Regions from separate parts of the Homo sapiens genome. Here all the other regions are linked to region 1. Evidence: promoter capture Hi-C in 16 types of primary human blood cells and fetal thymus (Javierre and others, 2016). All regions are on one chromosome and are shown on one strand. Each heading gives the region's core, a stretch centred on a gene start or on the middle of the fragment in contact. The rest is flanking DNA. Distances are from core to core; before and after follow the strand shown. Region 1 holds the start of FBXO43 (F-box protein 43). Region 2 has its middle 110 kb from the start of PABPC1. Region 3 has its middle 95 kb from the start of PABPC1.

Region 1 (3,286 bases), core at 202-2,701:
GTTCATCTACACACTTGAAGTTGCCTCCAACGTCCTTTCTCTGCTAGCATTTTCATCTTTCTACTACCCCAAGACGTTGGTCTCAAACGTGGTTCTTCGCAACTGAATTTTAAAATTATTCATGTAAAATCATGGACTGTCTGTTGTATTTTATGGACTCAACAGTTCACGGATAAATCAATCAAGCCTCTTCGATATTCATTTTTAAAAACTAGGCTTCTGATAAAAGGCTGAGAAAACTTATTCCTAAAGTGTTCTTTAAGAAAAAAAAAAAAAAAAGCAGCGGCCGGGCGCGGTGGCTCACGCCCGTAATCCCAGCACTTTGGGAGGCCGGGGCGGGCGGATCACGAGGTCAGGAGAGCGAGACCAACCTGGCTAACACGGTGAAACCCCGTCTCCACTAAAAATACAAAAAAATTATCCGGGCGTGGTGGCGGGCGCCTGTAGTCCCAGCTACTCGGGAGGCTGAGGCAGGAGAATGGCGTGAACCCGGGAGGTGGAGCTTGCAGTGAGCCGAGATCGCGCCACTGCACTCCAGCCTGGGCGACAGAGCGACTCCGTCTCAAAAAAAAAAAAAGAAAGAAAAAAGAAAAAGAAAAAAAAGAAAAAGCACCTACCACATCAGAGAATGAAGTACTTACATTAAACCCAAATGTTCTTCATTTGTTAAAGTGGAAACTCTTACCATCAGTAAATCTTGAGCTCTTAGATGTCAAAGTTACGTAGGCTTCCAAACAAGAAATTCTCTCATCTTTGTCTTTAAAACTCATGCCAAAATAATGCCACTTAAAGAGGAAAACTTTAGTTTGCACAATTAATTGAAAGGTGCAGCAGCATCATGATTGCTCAAAGTCGAAGGGTACACAGGGTGCATGCCGCAGGGATTATTCCTAACACTTGAGAAGGTCTAAATCATTTTGAATTTCCTTCAGCCCTCCAGAAAATAGTTATCTTAATATCCTTGTTTTCTCCAGCTGGACTTAGACATGAGTAAACTTCCCAAATTCGGGTTCCTGAAAAGGCAGCGTGTGCTGCAGCCTGGCACTGACTCCCCCGAGGAGCTATGGCGGGCGGGTGGGTAACGGTCTCACCAGGGCGTCAAAGATCCGCTAGGCCCAGAAAGCCAAGGGCAGCAGGGGATGGGCTGGCGTCACCAGGAGCGGAGGAGTGAGGGCTGCCGCGCGCCTCCCTAGGCCCAGCACCTGGAAGACACAGGGCGACGCGGGGCCGGGCCGCCGGGAGACCCGCTAACGGGCACTCGCCTGGGGTCCCGCCGCCTGCCTGGAGGCCGCGGGGCCGGGCGAGGCGCCGAAGCGGACAGGTGGGAGAGGAGCCGGGCAGCAGCCGCTGGATGGGCCGGGGAGAAGCCTCGGCCTCGCCCCCTGGGATGCGGGCTATGGCAACCCCCACGCCAGCTTCGCGTGGGGCCGCTGCCTTTACCTCCTTAGGTTTGAACGGCCCGCCCGGGGTAACCGCTAAGCGCAGCCCCGCCCCGCGCCGCGCTGTCCCGCCCCTTCCTCCGGCTCTGCAGCGCTCCCGCCCGGCCGCCCGCAGGCCTGGGTCCTCGCTTGAGCGGGAGGAGCGCCCCCTCTCTCGCTCACCCCTGCACCCGTCCCGAGGCGGGTCAGAAAGGCTCTGCTTCTCCCCATTCCCACTTTGGGAAGCATTACCGTATTTAGGAATGCTAACGTGGCCTACAGTGGGATGCCATTAGAAATCATGTATGAGAATGTTCCCTTGGAAATGATTCTCCAAACTGTCAAGTGCAAAAAGCAAGTTACAAACTGACCCCTTTTAGGTTAAAAATATGGATATACACAGGATGAGGTCTGAAAGGTATGAATAACTTGGATACGGTAAATTTGTACAGGATTATGTTTGCTTTTTAGTTCTTTTTATCTGTGTTTTCTTCTCATGTTTCAACAATGAATATATACAGATTTTGTGATAAAAAAGCTGAGCCGGGCCTGGTGGCTCACATCTGTAATCCCAGCACAGAGGTGGGAGGATCACTTGAGCCAAGGAATTTGAGACCAGCCTGGGCAACATAGTGAGACCCCCATCTCAAAAAAAAGATTTTTAAAAAATCTATTCATAAAAACCAGAGTGAAATGTGTTCATTGTTTACAAACATCCATTTTTGGGCATCATGAACTCCCAAGTACCCTCAAAGCCAAATAAATTTTTTAAACCCTAATTTTTTCATTCAATAAATATTTACTGGGCGTCTATTATATGCCAGGGACACTCCTGCTGCTCTTGGCAGCTTCTTCCTAGTCTCCTTTTTCTGGCTTCTTTTCCTTGGCCTACTCCCTAAATGAGAGGTCCTACCTCAGCATTTTTATTAGTTTATCATCCCATGCTTATGTAATTCTTATTCAGAACTTCAACCATCACTTTTAAGCCAATAACAGGCACTACCACCACTCTTCTCTGACTGGACATTTCTCCAACTGGATGTCCCTCAGTCATCCAAAACCAAACTCACTAAAATTATTATGAGACAGGGTCTCGCTCTGTCACGCACGCTGGAGTGCCGTGGTGCAATCTTGGCTCACTGCAACCTCCACCTCCCAGGTTCAAACGATTCTCCTGCCTCAGCCTCCCGAGTAGCTGGGATGACAGGCACCCGCCACCACGCCTAGCTAATTTTTGTATTTTCAGTAGAGACGGAGTTTTGCCAGGTTGGCCAGGCTGGTCTCGAACTCCTGACCTCAGGTGATCCACCTGCCTCAGCCTCCCAAAGTGCTGAGATTACAGGCATGAGCCACTGTGCCCGTCCACTAACAGTTATTAAATTCCAACTATGTGCCAATTACTGTGCTAGGTACTGGGAATACAGAGCTGACACAGCCACAGTTACTGCTGTTAAGGAGCTCATTGGTATAGAGCAAGTGCTGTAACAGAGGAACAGTAGCAGCACAAAGGAAAGAAGAACCAGCTAACTCTACTGGAGAACAGAGTGCATGAGATAGATTTTGATGTACAAGTGGCAATTTAAAAGGCAGACAGCAGGAAATTCCAAACTTAAAATGTATAAGGGCAGGAAAATTTCAAACTCAAAACAAAATGTGCAAGAGCAGTTGGGCACATGGAGAAGCTGCAAATAATTTGTTATAGGCAGAAACTAAGAGTTGTTAGAGGAAAGGATTAGAGAAAATTCCTGAGAAGTGAAGAAGCTAAGTCTTGGGAAGTTCTGGTTGCACCTTCAGAGTTTGAAGAGCATTTTAGAAAGTCCACTCTGGTGGCAGAATGGAGGACAGAATGAAGAGAGGCAAGGGTGGCT
Region 2 (3,286 bases), core at 505-3,004, 690 kb after region 1:
AGCCACCTAGCATTCCCCAATCCAGTCAAGTTGGCACCTAATATTAACCGTCACAGTATCCTTCCTTGCTCTCTGAAGGTTACCAGTGGGCCAGATGTGGTGGCTCATGCCTGGAATCACAGCACTTTGGGAGGCTGAGGCTGGTGGATCACCTGAGGTCAGGAATTTGAGATCAGCCTGGTCAACTTGGTGAAACCCTGTTTCTACTAAAAATATACACACACACACAAATTAGCCCAGCATGGTGGCGGGCCCCTGCAGTCCCAGCCACTTGGGAGGCTGAGGCAGGAGAATTGCTTGAGCCCAGGAGGCAGAGGTTGTAGTGAGCCAAGATCGTGCCACTGCACTCCACTTGCACTCCAGCCTGGGTGACAGAGCGAGACTCCATCTCAAAAAAATAAAAATAAATAAATAAGGGGGCTGGGGGCAGTGGCTCACGCCTGTAATCCTAGCACGTTGGGAGGCCAAGGTGGGCAGATCACTTGAAGTCAGGAGTTCAAAACCAGCCTGGCCAATATAGTGAAATCTCGTCTCTACTAAAATCACAAAAATTAGCCGGGTGTGGTGGTGGACGCCTGTAATCCCAGCTACTTGGGAGGCTGAGGCAGGAGAATCACTTGAACCGGGAGGCGGAGTTTGCAGTGAGCCGAGATTGCACCACTGCACTCCAGCCTGGGCTACTGAGCGAGACTCCATCTCAAAAATAAATAAATAAATAAATAAATAAATAAAACAAATAAATAAAAATAAAGGTTACCACTGAAGAAAGCTTTAAACTGTCTCGGCCTGGAGATGAAGCCAGAGGAATGCATATGAACAAGCTTTACTAACCAGCCTTTATCTGCCAGTTCTTTGCCTTTCCTCAAGTTGCTGCCTGTAGAAACTCAAAATCCATTTCCTTTGTCCTGTCACTTCTCTAAAAGTGTACTGTTCTTTGTTAAAGATGCCAGCTAAGCTGGAATTCCAAGCCACCACTTTGAGAACTACTCATTCTCTGTGTATCTCCCATGTATTATGAAGTATATATGTGAATAAATTTGTTTGCTTTTCTTTTGTTAATTTGCCTTTTGTAACAGAAGTCTGTTTCTACTACAGACCTCTGGAGGTTCTTTTCCCCCATGCAAGGATACTCCCGGGAGGAACGTCCCTCCCTGAGGCTGAGATGGCACAGAAGTTTTCTGGGTTGCTCCAGGCCACTGGACAAGAAGAAAACACCACTCCGAGGTAGAGATGTGTAGAAAACCGTGGCCAGGATTGGCAAGCAGAAAACACCTCTCTGGAGGGCTGGCAGGCCAAGGCTGGGAAGCCAACTGAGGCACCCGCATGATTCACTGGGGATCATTCCTGGGAAGGCTGCGGGAACCCTGTGGGAAGTTATCCATCTGGTGCTGCTGGATCCTAATGGAGCTGTCACTGGATCTTTGGTTGCCGCATTGGGGGGTGTGGGGAGAGGATTGAAAAGCAGCAAAACCTGGATGGTGGAAGCAACCGCCTTCCTCCTTCAGCATCCCTCCAACGCCCTCTACTGACGATGCTTTTAACATCATGCCGGCTGCAAAGGAGAAATAGTCAAAGGACCCCGAATCTCACAGTGTGAATCTGGAGAGGCAGTAAATTGATAACTGGCATAAGTGTTTACCTTTTACGAATCGATTAATGTTATTGACAGCTGAGTCATGTAACATATTACGATTACTTCTCCTTCCCTACTTTTTTGTTTTTTCTCGGATTAATCATTGGTTTTGTTGTTTTTGTTTATTTAATTATCACCAATCCCCAAACTCTCCCTAGTTATGTAAATCTTCTCTCCCACAGGGGAACAATAGTCTCAGTCCTCATTCTGGCAACATTTGGGTACTGGACCATGAGGCAGGTGAGGGACACATGGCAGCGGAGACCATCGTCATTATTTGAGGAAGTTTATGCATCTTCAGCAGGATCCCCCACTGTGGTCTTGTGACCAATTCACAGAGGCCACTGGCTTGGGGTCTTTCTTCTACCCTCTCCTTTCATCTCCTTAAGGGTGTTCTTACACGTGTTCTGCTCACTCCTTCATCAACTCACTCCTCTCCTGGCTTCTCATATTACATTTATTTATTTATTTATTTATTTATTTATTTATTTATTTAGATGGAGTCTTGCTCTGTCACCCAGACTGGAGTGGAGTGGCGCGATTTTGGCTCACTGCAACCTCCGTCTCCCAGGTTCAAGCGATTCTTCTGCCTCAGCCTCCCCAGTAGCTGGGACTACAGGCGTGTGCCACCATGCCCAGCTGATTTGTGTGTGTGTGTGTGTGTGTGTGTGTGTGTGTGTGTATATATATATATATATATATATATATATATATATATATATAGAGAGAGAGAGAGAGAGAGAGAGAGAGAGAGAGAGAGAGAGAAACAGAGAGTATGTATGTGTGTGTATTTTCACCATGTTGGCCAGGCTGGTCTCGAACTCCCGACCTCAGGTGATCTGCCTGTCTCAGCCTCCCAAAGTGCTGGGATTACAAGTGTGAGCCACCGCACCTGAAGCATAAGTTTTTTAAAATTCAACTATCTAAATAGGTTTATTCCATAGGTAGAATATTTTTCCCCATTTGTTTTGAAGATCAAATAACTTTAGGATTCAAAATAATGTGAAAGTCTTAGTACACACTTGGATGAGTTGATCTTAAACTGCTATTCATGGAAAGCTTTTCAAGCCTGAAATATTAAGGAAACTCACTGTTTCCTTAAAAAAAAAAACAGCTGGCTTTAATTGTTGGTCTTTACTGAATGAATGGATTTTCCAGATAGACAAAAAATAGTTTTCTATAACTAGCACAGAAAGGGAAGAAATAAAGTGAATTGCAACAGGCCAGCATTCAGATGATGGCAAATCCAGGGCTCTAGTCTTTGGTTAGAGGCTTAAGTGCTTAGAACCTATTAGAAGTTGTATTTGAAGAATAAAATGGTAACCAAAATAGTTTAAGTGGGTAAAAAAGGAGTCAGACCTCATCTGAAATTGGATTTCAGAATGGTTAAATTTGGATGTAAAATAAAACAAATATACGAGAATTTAAGAAGTATATGTACATATTTATAAATCTTAGATGAGGGAAGTCTTACTAAGCTAAACATATTGAAGCCAAAAAGGCATCAAAAGATTGACATAGCCTGGGCAACGTGGCAAGACCCTGTCTACAAAAAAAAAAAATTAAAAAATTAGCTGGGCGTGGCAGCCTGTGTCTGTTGTCCCAGCTACTCAGGAGACTAAAGCAGGAGGATTGCTTGAGTCTGGGAGGTTG
Region 3 (3,286 bases), core at 531-3,030, 670 kb after region 1:
GGTTTCTCCATGTTGGCCAGGCTGGTCTCGAACTCCTGACCTCAAGTGATCCGCCTGCTTCGGCCTCCCAAAGTGCTGGGATTATAGGCATGAGCCACTGCGCCCGGCCTCATCTGGCCTTTCTAATTCACCAGACCTTGTGCCATAGCTGCTAATTAAACTTTCTAAAAGTGGCTGTTACTAGTCATTGTAACCCTTATCATTCATTTTTTAAAAATCCATTTGTTTCATTAATTTGTAAATGTATTTCATTTATTTACGTTTTTCAACTTGTGTCTCTGAATGTAATTTCTCCTTGGAGGTTTTTCTACTGTGTCAACCCAGGGAGTCTATCCTTTAAGCTTTAACCAACATTTAGGTTTTCTTGCCATAATTAAAGTTAAAAATGTGTTGTTTAATCTGCCTTGCAGAAAAGTAGGAGCCCTGCTGGAATTCCTAAAAATGTTTTGTAATAATCTAGTTAGCGCGATATTAGACTTTTTTCTTGTGTTTATAATTTAGATTTTCTCCCCTTAGCTTTATTTCATTATGTCTGATTAAATCTGTTATATGATGCAACTTAATTTCCCAGCCTTTGTGTTTTGAACCAACATATGCTTAACTACTGTACAATTATGATTCATCCCCCCAACTTACATTAAACTGCCCCACTCTCCAGTCCTCCTGCTCCAGAGCCAACTTGGGGCATTTATGAAGCTTTGGTCTCTCTCATATGGGAGTAACAGGCCTTTAGGGCTTCCTCGGTAGGAAGTGGGGCATGTTCCATACCCACACACATACAGTGGGCACGTCCCCAAACATAGGAGGGGGTTAAGATGCTTGGCTCCTGTTCCCCTACCTGCCAAAGTATGACTATCCCTTACAGTTAGGCAAGCTCGCCAGAGATATACTGTACCTTTACAGTAGGAGACTGAGGGGCAGCCGTGTGATCTGTGGTCTTTCTTTTTCTTTTTTCTTTTTTTTTTTTTTTTTGAGACGGAGTCTCGCTCTGTTGCCCAGGGTGGAGTGCAGTGGTGCAATCTCAGCTCACTACAACCTCCACCTCCCGGGCTTAAGTGATACTCCTGCCTCAGCCTCCTGAGTAGCTGGGATTACAGGCACCTGCCACCACGCCCAGCTAATTTTTGTATTTTTAGTAGAGATGAGGTTTCACCATGTTGGCCAGGCTGGTCTCGAACTCCTGACCTCAGATGATCCACCCACCTCAGCCTCCCAAAAGGTTGGGATTACAGGCATGAGCCACTGTGCCCAGCCAATCTGTGGTCTTTCTTTCCCACTCCCAGCTTCTATGTCTGTGGAAATAGGAAATGTATTAGTGGAGCGTTTACCCAGTTGTTTGAAGGGAAAGACCTGTTCAAAGGCTCCTGGGAGGAACTTAGTCATGTGGCCACACAGCTGCAAGGGAGCCTGGGAAATGTGGTCTTTGCTTGAGCAAAGACCTGCTATCATGGAAAAAAGGGGAGAATGGATAGAGGCACAACTAGAAGTGGGCCAGAGGTATCAAGAAGCACTCCCAAGCAGAACCACAAACCTGCAGTCCAGAGCTCAGGAGGCCAACGTGATAGCTGGGAGTCAGTCAAGTTCTCAGCACACCTGCTGTCACCACTGGTGACATCTTAAAGGCACTGTGTGGCTTCTGAGGCTGCTGGAGGGAGTATTATTTTCAGGAGTCCACAAGGACCAACAAATGTGTTTCCCACTGAGATTTTTTTGAGGATTTGAATTCCTTAGCATATCTTAGGCTTTCTGGCGAACTAGGTGGATTTTAGCTGGCCTCCCTCTGCCCATGGTGACCTTATTTCCAGAACAACAAAGAAGGGCATGCATGCTGACAGGTGGCTTGACTGTAGATCTGGATACCTAAACATTTCTGGAAATTTCAGCAAGTGTGGTCATCCTGCTGTTGCTTGTATAGTATAATTATGTCCTGCTCCTGTAATAGTCACTGAAGGGGGCCTTTGGGATGCCTCTACTTTCCCAATAGAGCTGTTCTTCACAGAGCTCCACACCCGTTCTTGGCAAGCCACTCTTGTGCAAAAACACAATGGCATGAAATTGTGGGGGGAAAAAAAACAGTCCGGGTGCAGTGGCTCATGCCTGTAATCCCAAAACTTTGGGAAGCTGAGGCGGGCAGATCATGAGGTCAGGAGTTCGAGATCAGCCTGGCCAACATGGGAAAACTCTGTCTCTACTAAAAATACAAAACTTAGCTGGGCATGGTGGTGTGCGCATGTAATGCCAGTTACACAGGAGGCTGAGGCAGGATAATTGCTTGAGCCCGAGAGGTGGAGGTTGCAGTGAGCCGAAATCATGCCACTGCACTCCAGCCTGGGTGACAGAGAAAGACACTGTCCAAAGAAAAAAAAAACAAAAACCAAAACAATAGTTATATAAAATAGATTGATTTCCAATTAAGAGAAAAGGAAAGAGTTGCAGCCATATCTCCACAATAGTCATTAAACAACACTGTCTGGAGCAGGATAAAGTTAGAAACATTCAGCAATAGAGAACAGAAAGGACACCCAGATAATTCACAGAAGATAAATTCTTATCACTGGAGTGGCCAAGATATAATTTTCATGATGGTAAAAATATTAATCAAATCTTATTGTTTTTCAGCAAAGAAATCCAGATTCCTTACCCTGGCATTCAGGACTTTCAAAATTAAGGTCTTAATCTCATTTATGAGCATAGATGCAAAAACACCAAGTGAAATATTATTTAAATGGTGCATTATTACCAAGTAGGGCTAATTTTAGGGATGCAAAAGTGGTTCAACACTAGGAAATCTATTAATGTAATTCAATACATTAATTAATAGTTTAAAGGAGAAAAACCATTTGAGTATCTCAGTAGATGGTGAACAAGCTTTTGATTAAATTCAACGCCATTGCTATTAAAGACTCTTACTAGATGAAAAATATGGAAATAGCTACTGGAAACACACAGCAAACATCACACTGAATGGAGTAAAAGTAATATTCTCACAAAGACACGAAGAAGATGGTGATGCCTCCTACCATCGCTACTATTCAGTGGAGTCTGCTAAAAGTCTCAGTGAACCAATAAAATACGTACAAGAAAAGCAGTATAAAGATTGGAAGGGGCAGAGCACAGTGGCTCATGCCTGTAATCCCAGTACTTTGGGAGGCCCAGGCGGGCAGATCACCTGAGGTCAGGAGTTCGAGACCAGCCTGACCAATATGGCAAAACGCTGTCTCTACCAAAAAATATAAAAGTTAGCCAGGTGTAGTGGCGGGCACCTGTAATCCCAGTAACTAGGGAG

The links. Contacts are between HindIII fragments. The CHiCAGO score rates a contact against its expected background, and 5 or more counts as called.
Region 2: a fragment that was not itself captured here is called in contact with the fragment with the promoter of FBXO43 in region 1 in 7 of 17 cell types (naive CD4 T cells, naive CD8 T cells, activated CD4 T cells and 4 more); the score reaches 10.0 in naive CD4 T cells.
Region 3: a fragment that was not itself captured here is called in contact with the fragment with the promoter of FBXO43 in region 1 in 1 of 17 cell types (activated CD4 T cells); the score reaches 5.1 in activated CD4 T cells.

What each region holds. Positions count from the first base shown.
Region 1 is chr8:100,144,366-100,147,651 of GRCh38, forward strand. It overlaps FBXO43 (F-box protein 43), which reads right to left and starts at 1,452. Exons shown (of 5, transcript NM_001029860.4): 1 at 686-1,452. The coding sequence starts at 770. RefSeq lists an enhancer at 1-64 and a silencer at 1,176-1,635. The HindIII fragment of the contact is 15,929 bases long and covers 1-3,286 here.
Region 2 is chr8:100,834,143-100,837,428 of GRCh38, forward strand. No RefSeq gene overlaps it. Among named protein-coding and RNA genes, the nearest start is that of PABPC1, 110 kb to the left of the region's middle. The HindIII fragment of the contact is 1,871 bases long and covers 820-2,690 here.
Region 3 is chr8:100,814,959-100,818,244 of GRCh38, forward strand. No RefSeq gene overlaps it. Among named protein-coding and RNA genes, the nearest start is that of PABPC1, 95 kb to the left of the region's middle. The HindIII fragment of the contact is 2,172 bases long and covers 695-2,866 here.